Regions from separate parts of the Homo sapiens genome. Here regions 1 and 2 are each linked to region 3. The links are contacts of gene promoters, found by promoter capture Hi-C in blood cells and fetal thymus (Javierre and others, 2016). All regions are on one chromosome and are shown on one strand. Each heading gives the region's core, a stretch centred on a gene start or on the middle of the fragment in contact. The rest is flanking DNA. Distances are from core to core; before and after follow the strand shown. Region 1 has its middle 7.3 kb from the start of PDCD6IP-DT. Region 2 overlaps PDCD6IP (programmed cell death 6 interacting protein). Region 3 holds the start of GLB1 (galactosidase beta 1).

Region 1 (4,193 bases), core at 1,207-3,706, 690 kb after region 3:
CCACAGTTCATTTCTATTGTGTGCAAGAACCCTAATACACAGAGATACTTTTTTTCAGCCACATCTAGAGAGTGGGGTAACTTTCAGAAATTCCCTCAAAAGAGCTAAGAAGCTTCCTTCTCTGTTATCTCTGGCAAACCTCTTTTTACATCTCTATAGTCAGAATTGGGTCATTTTTTTTTTTTCTGTACTACTGGGGCTTGAGGACGGGATTATGATAATGATCTAAGGCCTGAGCCACATTCTTATCCCTTAAGGCTTAAGACAAAGAACAAAGAGGGAGAGGCGAGGACACCCAGGGTGAGATCAGGAGGATACTAACTTCAGAGAGGGGTGAATGGGTGAAAGTATATTGGAGGTAGAAGAACCACAATGCCTACCAGACAGAGCAACTTACATCAAACCCTTTGAACTTCCAAGCTTGCTCCTCACATGTGTGAAGAAGTCTGCATAAACCACTATATTATGTTGCTGTTTGTCACCACCTGGAACATCTGGACAGAGTCCCCAGGATAGGATACAACTTCCTTTCCATGGGGCCAGTCACATTCTTTGCTGTCTTGTTCCTTCATTCTGCCTTTAATGAGGGTGGGGTCAATAAAGAAAATGGCAGTAAATTTCTCTTTAGTTTAATGGAAAATTCCTCTGGAAGTTCACCCCTCATTGATGTACTCCACTTCCTTATTTTTCTCCCCTATTCTTAGGAGCCAATATCTCTGCAACAATGCTTCCTTCTTCTCACCTTTCAAAGCAAGACTTTATTCATTCTCTGAACAACCCACCCCTTCCAAATAGATCAGACTATACCCCTAGCGGTATATTTCTCAAAATTTGGAGCCTGTTCTGAGTAATATGCTTTTCAAGCGAATTTTACCCTTAGTACTAGTGACATTTAGGGCTGGATAATATTTTTGCTATGAGAGACTGTCCTGTGCATTGTAGAATGTTTAGAAGCATCTCTAGCTTCTATCCACTAGAGGCTAGTAGCATCCTCTCCCACCAAGTTGTGACAACCAAAAATGACCACTGGAGAGCAAAATTACCCATTTAATAACAAGTAAGCTAGAATAATACTCTGGGGGAGACTGTGCTGGGTGAGAGTAGAGGAGTTCTCTTATATTCCAAGTTAGGGTGGAGAACGTGGGGAACTTTATCCAGGTTTCACCAAAAAGTAAAGGACAGGTGAAGGAACTCACTTCTCTTGTGAGTCATCAATGAACTTCTTTGCTCTCCTGACTGTGCTGCAGGGGACTGCTGAATCACCATCTCCCAAGGACAAATATTAATTTTCATAGAGTACAGCCTAACCACAAGGTAGAAGATACATATTTTCCCATCTGTCCTTCTGTCCTGTAATTTTACAAGGCCATCTCTCTCTTTCTCTCTTTTTTATGAGACGGAGTCTCGCTTTGTCACCCAGGCAGTAGTGCACAATCTCAGCTCACTGCAACCTCTGCCTCCCGGGTTCAAGTGATTCTCCTGCCCCAGCCTCCTCGGTAGCTGGGATTACAGGCGCCTGCCATCACGCCCGGCTAATTTTTTTGTATTTTTATTAGAATTGGGTTTTCACCATGTTGGCCAGGCTGGTTTCAAACTCCTGACTTCAAGAGATCTGCCCTCCTCGGCCTCCCAAAGTGTTGGGATTACAGGTGTGAGCCACCACGCCTGGCCATGGCCACATCTCTTATAATGAGGTATGACAAATTATTATTCAGCACAGACTTAATCCACCTATCTTGCTTCCAAATGTATCTTCTTTGGATCATCCCTGAGTAACACTTTTTAAAATTCCCTTAGCTACTCACAGAGTTGGCCAAAGATAAGAAATTATTACTTGGAAATGTAATCCCATAGTTTCTTTTTTATGATGGTGGTTGCTGTGTTACTTGGTACACAGATATTTTGGGTTAGCTGATACAAAAGTTTGATATTTCAAACTCTTATCTTTATTGTGGCTTTTAGCTACATTTTTTTTTCTGGATAATTTTAGCCTTTAGCATTATGAAATGTCCTTAATTACATTTAAGCCTTTTTGGTCTGAATTGTCTGATATCAAAAGAACGACCCTGCACTCCTATTGTTTCCATTTGTCTGGTGTTTTAGTTAGTTCAAGCTGTTATAGATTGGGTGGCTTCAACAACATTTATTTCTTACGGTTATGGAGGATGTGAAGTCTAAGAGCAGGGTACCAGCATGATTGGGTTTTGGTGAGTGCCCTCTTACTGCTTTGCATATAGACACCTTTTTACTGTATCCTCACATAGCAGAGTGAGAGAGGAAGCAAGTGCTGTTGCGTCTCTTCTTAGAAGGGCACTAATCCTATTCATGAGGGCTCTGTGCTCACAATCTAATTACCTTCCAAAGGTCCCACCTCCAAATACCATCGCATTTGGAACTGAATTTCAAGAAGTGACTGTTGGGGGTACACATTCAGTCCACAGCACCTAGTATGTCTGTCTATTCCTTTCTATTTAGCCTTTCTGAATCATTTTGTTTTAGGTATGTTGCTTGCATGTACCATAATGATAGTGTATCAGTTAGCTTCTGTTGCATAACAAACCATGCCAAAACTTAAAAACCAGCCATTTATTTAGCTCATAATTCTGTAGGTTGGCTTAACAGTTCTGGTCTAGATTGGCTCAGTTGATCTCTCAGGTGCTTGCTTCTGTGTCTGAGGTCATCTAGGGTGTTGCCTGGTTGTTGGATGATCTAAGATAGCCTTGTTCATATGTCTGACAATTAGCAGACTGTTGGTTAGGGCTAGGAGAGTGACTCAACCACGTCTCTCATAATCCAGCAGGCAAGACGGTACACATGGAGGTCACGGGGTTGCAAGTGCAGTAAGAGAGGACAAACCCTGATGACTGAAGTGTCTGCTTGCATCACAACTGCTAATGCCCCATTGGCCAAAGCAGCTCACATCAACGACCTAGACTTAAAGGGTGCAGAAAAAGACTCCACTTCCTGGTGGGAAGATCTGCAATGTCACACTGCAAAATCATGATAAAGGGAGAGGAAGAGTTTGTGGCCAATTTTATAATCTATCACATTGGGTTTTCTTTTGTGAGTCATTTTAAAAGTCTTTTTCTTTACTTCCTTTTTTCTTTACCTCCTTCTGCTATTCGATTTTTTAACTTTAAGTGACATTCATTGATATCATTTAAATATCTTTTGACTCCCATCAATTGCCTATTTACCAATAAATTTACTTATTTTACTTTTCCTTTCTGATGACTGCAACTTACTATGAAATGGATCCAAAAAGCAAGGTAGATTTATGGGTGGATAGAGGGAAGATTAGATGGACAAATGTGAGATAAAGCATGCATAGTAAAATGTTAATGTTAGAATCTAGGTGGTGGGTAGGTGAGTGTTTATTGCAAAACTCTATGCTGTGGCTGAAATTTTAAAAATGAATTGTGAAGTTGAGGCAGGAGAATCCCTGGAGTCCAGGAGTTTGAGACCAGCCTCGGCAACATAGGGATATTCCGTCTTTACAAAAAATAAACAAATAAATTAGCCGGGCATGGTAGTGTGCACCTGTAGTCCTAGCTACTTGGGAGGCTGAGGTAGGATAATTGCTTGAGCCTGGGCCTGGAAGGTTGAGGGTGTAGTGAGCCATGACTGCACCACTGCACTCCAGCCTGGGCAAAAGAGCCAGACCCTGTCTCAAAAAAACAAAACAAAAAAACAAAGAAAAGAAGAGAAAAGAAAAGAAAAGAAAATATTGGAAGAAAAAGAACACAGGAGCCAGCTTGAGGGTGTTCATATCAGTCAAATCTTGGACAATCTGAGCGTCAAAATAAATAATAATAACAGATTATAATCTACCAAATTAAATAAAAATCTATGGGTCCATGCTGGTATAAACATATAAATGAATAAATAAGGGAGAAAAGAAAATTCTTCTTTCTAGAATAATGTCAGCTAATAGATATAGGCAGAATAATGGATAAGAAAATTACCATTTTGCAATCATCACAGAAATATTAGATTCATGGAAGAATCATCGAAGTATGCTAAAACTAGTGGAAGAAAGTTTAATGTGGAACAGTATGTTTAATAGCCTCGAATTATATTCCCACAAATTAGTTGTTAATTACAAAGGGAAAAGAATAATTTTTCCAACGAGAACCCTGGTGGTTTTTATTCTATCTAATCCCTTCAACCTTTTTTTTCCCTCTATTGGATCT
Region 2 (4,264 bases), core at 666-3,165, 710 kb after region 3:
CCTGGGCAGCCGTGTGCCACAATTTTGGGATGGCCCAACCTAGGCAAAAAAGGTACAGGGCAGGGCAGGGGTTTTTCCTCTTGTTATATAAGTAGTTACATACTTATTATATGCTTGATTTAGCCTTTTTCCCAGCAGAGTCTAGAATATCACTGTTCAGAAAAAGTTTGCCAGTCCTGGCTTTATAGCCATATTGGCCTCCTTGCTGTGCCAAGCACACCTTTAGGCGTTGTTGCCTCAGACCTTTAGCACTTGCTGTTCCCTTCTTATGGGCTTGTTCTTTGATAGCTCCTGTTCATTCACAAACCAGAATTTTAGGTTTTATTTTTCAGAGATAGAAGAAAACTTTGCATTTTACCGATTCATTTGCTTGGGGCTAGCAACAAAACAGAGAGCAAATAGATCTAGTCTTTGCTTTCATGGAATTTAGAATCCTTTGAGAGAAAAGACAATAAACATAATCCCACCAATAATATATCACAAATTGTGTTAAATCCTATGAAGAAAATGTTCAGGGACCTGAGAGATTATAAATGGAGGGGCAACTAATTTTAAAAAGGGGTTACATTGACTGTATTTTTTTGAGACAAGATTTCACGCCATGGCCCATCCTGGAGTACAGTGGTGGGATCACAGCTCACTTCAGCCTTGACCTCCTGGGCTCAAGTGATCCTCCCACCTTATCCCGCTGCATAGTCCCTTTGGGGGACTGTAGGCCCACCACCACACCTGGCTGACGTGTGTATGTATGTGTAAAGATGAGGTCTCACTATGTGCCCAGGGTGGTCTCAAACCCCTAGGCTCAGGTGATCCTCCTACCTCAGCCTCCCAAAGTGTTGGGATTACAGGCATGAGCCACAGCGCCTGGCCTAGATTAACTTTATCACTTCTGCTGCCACCGTGGACTCCATTGATCCGTGCTAGCATCATCTCTTGACTGGATTACTACGGTAGCTTCCTAACTGATCTCTCTACTTCTGCTCGTGCACACCTGCAGTCAGTTTTCTACACAACAGTCATGGTGACTGTATGAAAATAAGTCATATTGCTGTTTTGTCCAAACCTTTTGATGATTCACACTCTTACACTATATAGTAAAACTCAGAAGTCTTACAGTTGCACTCAAGGCATCATTACTTCTTTGACTTCATCACTTACTATTTTCTCCCTTGCTCACTCTATGATCATATTGGTCTCCTTGCCATGCCAGATACATTCTTAAGTACCCTCTTGTCCCAGGGTATTGGCACTTGATTTTCCCTAGATTGGAAATTCTCAGATATCTGCTTGGCTCACCTCATCACCTTTTTCATGCCTTTTATGGTCATGCTGTTTTAGAGTTAAAACTTTTTTTCATGTAGTCAAATGACCATGTTATTTAAAACGACAACCTTCTTACCTCTCCTCATATATTCACTTTATTCCTCTTGTCTCTTTATTCTCCATGGCACTTACCACTGTCTTCTATATAATATTTTTGCTTTTTTGTCTTCCCCTCTAAAAGCTTCACAAGAGCACAGATTTTTAGATGTTTACTGCTAAATTCTTAATGTCCTAAAACTGGTGCATAGTAAGCTCTTAGTATATATTTGTTGAATGAATGAATGAGGAAAACTTTCTTTGATAACAATGTCAGCCTAGACAATAGTGAGAAATGGTGGTAAAAAGAGTGAAGGCCCTGAGCAAGGAGAGCCTATAATTTAGTGACTCGAATGTATAGTGAATATCCTGAGATGAGGCTGGAGAGTTGGATGATAGCCATATCCTGTAAGACCTTCAACATTTTTGGATGTAATTTTAAGTGTAATGGGAATCCACCAAAGGGTTTCAGTACTTAATACTTCAGAGTTTATTTCCTGAGTACAAAGATATTCTCCTGTATAACCATAGTACAACTTTCAAAGTCAGGAAGTTGGCATTGATTCATTATTACCATTTAATCTGTAGAATTCATTCAAATATTGCTGATTTTCCTAATATTATTTACAGGTTCAGGATCTAATCTAGAATCATGCAGTGCATTTAATTGTTACGTCTCTTTAATCTCCTTCAATCTGGACCAGTTCTTCAGTTTTTCTCGTCTTTCATGACCTTGACATTTTTGAAGAGTACAGGCTAATTACTTTTTAGAATTTTCCTCAATAAAGGCTTGTCTCATTTTCTTGTGATTTCTGCATTTTTGCATAGGAGTACCAGCGAAGTGATGCTGTGTTCTTTCTAGTGCATATCAGGAAAAATAAGATGTGGATTTGTTCTGTAGTGGTAATGTTTATTTTTATCGCTTGGTTAAGATGGTGTTTGCCAGGTTTCTTGACCTTACAGTTAATAAGCTTGTTGTACTAATTAGTAAATATTTTGTGGGGAGATACTTTGGGACTATGTAATATCCTGTTTCATTACACACTTTTCATTATTTTATCATTTATTGATGAATCTTACCAGAATTAGATATTATACTCTGAAAGGTACCAAATGGTAATTTTTCTAATTTCATCTAGACTATGGTACCGTAGGATAGAGTTTTCCCTATTCACCTGTTTATTTACCTCCGAATGGTGGTCTTTTCCTCAATGGGCTCTTATTTTTTACTGTTATTTTATTTAGATTGGTTCAGTGCTTAGCCATTGGGAGCCCCTTAAAGCTACCTCCTGTGCCCTTTTGACATGTCCTCATCATTTTTTGAGTACTTCCTTAACTTTCTGGCATAGCAAGATGTTTTAGACTTGAATATTGAATTTTTTCAGTCTCAGCCCTTGAGTCAGCCATTTCTCTAAGGAGCACTTGGCTCATTTTAATGCAAAAGATTATCTGGGCAGTAGGTGTGCTTATTGCTACTGTGAAGTGTTACTGCTTATAGGCCCTCTTAGCATATACATTTAGGAAATACATAGTTACACATTTATACTTGTTTTTATTTCTCTCTGCTACCTTTAAAAAATGAGTTAAAAACTAGCTGGGTGTGGTGACATGCACCTGTAGTCCTGGCAGCTCAGGGGCTAAAGTGGGCAGATTGCTTGAGCCTGGGAGTTCAAGGTTACCGTGTACTGTGATTGTGCTACTGTACTGCAGCCTGGGCAACAGAATGATACCCTGTCTGTAAACAAACAAAAAAAGTTCACATTGATATCTCCAGTTCCAGTTTAAAACTGTGGAGTTATTCTAACCTTCTGCCTTCTCATGTTTGTGGATTTTTTTTTTTTTTTTTGAGACAGGTTCTTGCCCAGGCTGGAGTACAGTGGCGCTGTCTTGGCCCACTGCAGCCATGACCTCCAGATCAAGTGATCCTCCCACCTCAGCCTCATGAGTAGCTGGGACCACAGGTGTGCGCCACCATGCCTGGCTAATGTTTGTATTTTTAGTAGAGACAGGGTTTTGCTGTGTTTCCTAGGCTGGTCTCGAACTCTGGGCTCAAGTGATCCACCTGCCTCAGCCTCCCAGAGTGCTAGGATTACAGGCGTGATCTGCTGTGCCTGGCCCTTTCAGGTATTTGTATCTCTGACCTTGGGAAACTTGGCTTCCATTATCTTCAATGTATTTACTTAATTGGATAGTTTTTCCTGTTTATAACCAAACTCATAGCCATGCCAGCCAAAAGCTTGGTCTCAGATATGTTGCCCACTCCTGCTGAAAATTTGCCCCCAGAAATAATCATTACAAAAATACCCCTGATGAAGGGGTGGGGGAAGTATAAGGGAAAAAGGAAAGGAGGAAAGATTAGAGGCCAGTTAGAAAGCTTGGCCTGACCCTTTTCTCCTCCTTTCCCTGCCAGACTTGCTGACTGACAGCTCACCCTGATGGGGGGAAGTCTGCTTTATATTTTGTGATCATTCTGGCTGCTATGCAGAAAACAGGTCGGAAAGAATGAGAAAGGAGATGGAGAGGTTGTCTAGGAAACTTTTGGATTTCTAGCTGAAAGACAGTGGTAGCTTTGATGTGCTGTGTGGCAGTGCTGGAGACAGATAGAGATGGGCTTACCCAAAACATTTAAAAGTCGGTAAACCTGTTTTTAATTGGCAGTTTACCAGAGATACTAATTTGTCTAATGGATACAAACTTATTTATTTTAGTAAGAAATAGTATTTTTAAGAAATATTTTGGTTTTCAGAGCAGATGTTAGTTTGCTTTTAGCCAATAACAGTTGATAAATATTTTTCTGTGGTGGTGGGTATGACTTTTTGTTCATAGTTTTTCACTGCATATATTTTTTAAGCTTCTGGTTTACGTATTAAAAAACTTTTTTTCATATAAAATAGCTGCTCAAAGT
Region 3 (3,908 bases), core at 583-3,082:
GAGACCATCCTGGCTAACATGGTGAAACCCCGTCTCTACTAAAAATACAAAAAAAGAAAAAAATTAGTCGGGTGTGATGGCGGGCGCCTGTAGTCCCAGCTACTCGGGAGGCTGAGGCAGGAGAATGGCGTGAACCCTAAAGAAATGTAAACAAGGAGATAATGGAAAGCTAGACTGCTGGTATCTTTCTTTAGCTGTGGGCACAGAAGCCCAAGAGGGACACCTAGGCACCTGAAATGAGAATTCCTGGGGTGATGCCAGCCTCCCTGTGTGGGCCTCAGGTATGGCAGCCACAGGGCATCCACCCTGACCCAATGACGCTGCACAAGACTGATGAGCTCACATCAGACAGATTGACCCTGTCCACCTGTTCCTGGTTCATAAATCCTTCTCTCTCTCCCTACCCCCACTCCCAGATACTGGTTAAGATCTGCCTTTCCCCTAGCCCCTTACCCTGCCACTGTTCTCCTGAACTGTGCCCCAGTTCCACCTTCCCCAGTGGTTCTCACAGCTGGCTAGCTCTGACTCCTAAGGTCCTACGGGCCTTCTGGACAAGAAAACTCTGTCTACATACTGGGGTAGGGGAACCACAGACGGGGTGAAGAGGGAGCAGCAAATAATCTGTGCTGACTTTTTCCCAAAATGAAAACATTTTCAGCAGCTGTTTTCCAAATACTTAAGATGTTCAATCTTGGTTGTAGATAAATGTACCACTTTTCTCTGCCCTAGGCACGTTATTGAAAGCGTTATTAAAGGGTGTAACTTACAAGTCAACGGTGTCAAATGCTACCAGCTCTTACTTAAAGCATACTGCAGGCTCAGCCCACCTACACCCTGGAGGAACCAAAGTTGGTCCGCGGAACGTGCAGAGGAGCAGCTTGCAACTACCCACTCTCCTTTCCGCAGGTGTGATGCAAACCTCCCCAGGCAGCGCTTTGGAGCCCCTCAGCCAGTCGCCTCAGCTCGGACGCAGCGAGTGAAGCTGTCCTTCCTCTCCCACCAACTGTGCACGCCCCGCACCTCACCTATTCGCCTCGCCAGCCCTGCCCCGATCAACGATGGCATCCCCCGGCAGCCTGCCTATTCCCCCCCTCAACCTGGACCCCCAAACGCCGAAGGAAAACGGTCCCACAAATACAAAGAAAAACCCAAGCCAAAGGGCAGGCGACGGGGAGTGGTGAGAAAGGAACAAGATGCACGAAGAGGGAGAGCACCCAGAGGGGAAATAACCCAATGTTCCCACTGCAAGGGCCTCTCCTGACCCCATTTTTCTCCTTCCGGAGCGCTCCGCAGAGCACCAACTGGGAAAGCGAGGGCGCCCCAAACCAGAGCCGGAGGCACCCTCTAACCCGCGCAACTTGGAATCCCCTCCCGGAAAGCCAACTTAGGAAATGTTTACACGCACCTCGTCTCAACACCTCGTTACAGATGGGGAAGTGGATCCAAGCGCAAAGGGCGGCCGGAGCGGAACGCACAAGCGACCGAGCTGCCTGGAAGGACGCGCGCCCCGCCCGGCCCGCCCCCGACGGGAAGGCCGGTCCACTGCCTGCGTTCCGCCGGCCGCGAGCCTGCTGGGGGGCACTTCGGGGCTCAGGCTCCCCGCCCTGCGGGACCGCGGGTGGCTGCGACCCCAGCCCGGTTCCCCGCCAGCCTGTCCCCTAGCAATGCCTCCCCGTACCCGGGTCCCGCAGACTTACGCGCAAGCCGCGCGTAGGGCCCAGAAGCAGCAGAACCAGCAACAGAGGGAGGATGCGAACCAGGAACCCCGGCATGACCACCAGCCTCCCGGCTCTGCAGTCGGCGCCCAGGCCGGCCGCTTCGCGTCACTTGACTAAGGACCCACGGCCTGGCACCGCCCCTCGTCGGCCCAGCAGCCAGCCCTCGCGCCTGCTCAGCCCCGCGCCCCGCCCCGCTGTGGCCGAGCCGGGCGGGTGGGGGCGGCTAGGAGGCTGCGCGCCGCCGCGTGACTCCAGGATAGTACTATCTGGGTTTTGCAGGCGTCTTCCCTGGGAAGGGACCCTTTGGAACTGCAGTCCGGAGGGCCTGCTTTCAGCAGCTTGATAACGCGCCTCGGGGATTGGACATGAATCATGGTCTCCCTGTTCCCTGGCTGCCTTGAGAGAGCAGAAGAGGGAAATTGTTAATCATTAAACCTAAACGCCCTAGATGGAATCCGCGTCTCATATACGGGCTCTTTGAATAACTCTAAGCCGGGGGTTAGCAAAATGTGGTCGGTCCCTGGAGCCACTGTATCAACTCACCTGGAACTTGTTAGAATGAAAATCCTGCTCACGCCTGTAATCCCAGCACTTTGGGAGGCCGAGGCGGGCGGATCGCCTGAGGTCAGGAGTTCCAGACCAGCCTGACCAGTATGATGAAACCCCGTCTCTACTAAAAATACAAAAATTAGCCGGGCGTGGTGGCAGGCGCCTGTAATCCCAGCTACTGAGGAGGCTGAGACAGGAGAATCGCTTGAACCCGGGAGGTGGAGGTTGCAGTAAACCGAGATCGAGCCATTGCGCTCCAGCCTGGGCAATAAGAGCGAAATTCCGTATCAAAAAAAAATTTTCTTTTTTAAAATAACCTTAGTTTATGCCTTGGTGTTCCAAAAAGCCTTTTTACATTGTATAACAAAGTAGCCAAAATTCTATTTGTTCACTCCTTTCTCCTTTCCTACCGGACATGTCCTTGAGAGATTGAGAAAGTATCAGAAAGGACATTTCATTGAGAGATTGAGAAAGTATCAGTTACTGGCTTTTCTTAGGTTTTTGTTTTTTGGTTTGGGGGGTTGTTTTTTTGTTTTGTTTTTGTGTTTTTTGAGACAGGGTCTCACTCTGTCACCCAGGCTGGAGTGGGGCGCAATCACGGCTTACTGCAGCTTTGGCCTCCTGGGCTCAAGCAATTCTCCCGTCTCAGCCTACCAAGTGGCTGGGACTACAGGCGTGCGCCACCACACCCGGCTAATTTTTGTATTTTTTGTAGAGACAGGGTCTCACCACGTTTCCCAGGCAGGTCTTGAAGTTCTGGGATCAAGCAATCTACCTGCCTGGAACTCCCAAAATGCTGGAATTACAGACATGAGCCACCGTGCCTGGCTTCTTTTCATGCCTGTAGTACCAATTCCGTGTCCTTGCACTGTGAAGTCCTTTCCAAGCTCTGCAATTCTAGTTCAGTATTAAAGAACAAGGGCTCTGGAGGAAGTACACTTGAGTTGGAATTCCAGCTCTGCCACTTACTGTCTGTGTAACTGTGGGCAAATTACTTAACCTCTCTGAGCTTAGTTTCTTTGTTGGTAAAGCAGGGCTAATAATATCAAATTCACTGGATAATTGGGGAAATTACCAGAGATGATGACGATAAGAAGCTTGGTATATACAGGATGTTAGTGGGACAGTTGATGAAATCAGAATTAGACTTGTAGGTTAGATTAGTACCATGCATCAATGTTAATTTCCTTTTTGGGGGGGTGGGGGGACAGAGTCTCACTCTGTCACCCAGGCTGGAGTGCAGTGGCACAATCTCGGCTCACTGCAACCTCCGCCTCCCAGGTTCAAGTGATTCTCCCACCTCAGCCTCCAAAGTAGCTGGGATTACAGGCACCCACCACTAGGCTTGGCTAATTTTTGTATTTTTAGTAGAGATGGGGTATCACCATGTTAGCCAGGCTGGTCTGGAGCTCTTGACCTCAAGTGATTTGCCCACCTCGGCCTCCCAAAGTGCTGGGATTACAGGCATGAGCCACTGTGCCCGGCCGCATCAATGTTAACTTTCTGATTTTGATAATGGTACACGGTCTAAATATTAAATAATAGTTTTGTATTAGTGTATTGATTTGGGTAACGGTAATGGTAATTTTGGTAATGGTTATATAAAAGAACATCCTTGTTTTTTAGGAAACAAAAGGGCAT

What was found. The method cuts DNA at HindIII sites, captures the fragments that hold promoters and counts their contacts. A CHiCAGO score of 5 or more calls a contact.
Region 1: a contact is called between a fragment that was not itself captured here and the fragment with the promoter of GLB1 in region 3, in 3 of 17 cell types (total B cells, erythroblasts and naive B cells). The highest score is 8.1, in total B cells.
Region 2: a fragment that was not itself captured here is called in contact with the fragment with the promoter of GLB1 in region 3 in 1 of 17 cell types (total CD4 T cells); the score reaches 5.2 in total CD4 T cells.

The regions. Positions count from the first base shown.
Region 1 is chr3:33,789,074-33,793,266 of GRCh38, forward strand. No RefSeq gene overlaps it. Among named protein-coding and RNA genes, the nearest start is that of PDCD6IP-DT, 7.3 kb to the right of the region's middle. RefSeq lists an enhancer at 176-1,073. The HindIII fragment of the contact is 4,076 bases long and covers 419-4,193 here.
Region 2 is chr3:33,807,709-33,811,972 of GRCh38, forward strand. The region is part of intron 1 of PDCD6IP (programmed cell death 6 interacting protein); the gene reads left to right. Among named protein-coding and RNA genes, the nearest start is that of PDCD6IP, 11 kb to the left of the region's middle. The HindIII fragment of the contact is 826 bases long and covers 1,503-2,328 here.
Region 3 is chr3:33,095,314-33,099,221 of GRCh38, forward strand. GLB1 (galactosidase beta 1) reads right to left here and starts at 1,833. Exons shown (of 16, transcript NM_000404.4): 1 at 1,698-1,833. The coding sequence starts at 1,772. TMPPE (transmembrane protein with metallophosphoesterase domain) reads right to left here and starts at 1,833. Exons shown (of 2, transcript NM_001039770.3): 1 at 1,406-1,833. RefSeq lists a silencer at 1,421-2,030. The HindIII fragment of the contact is 8,101 bases long and covers 1-3,362 here.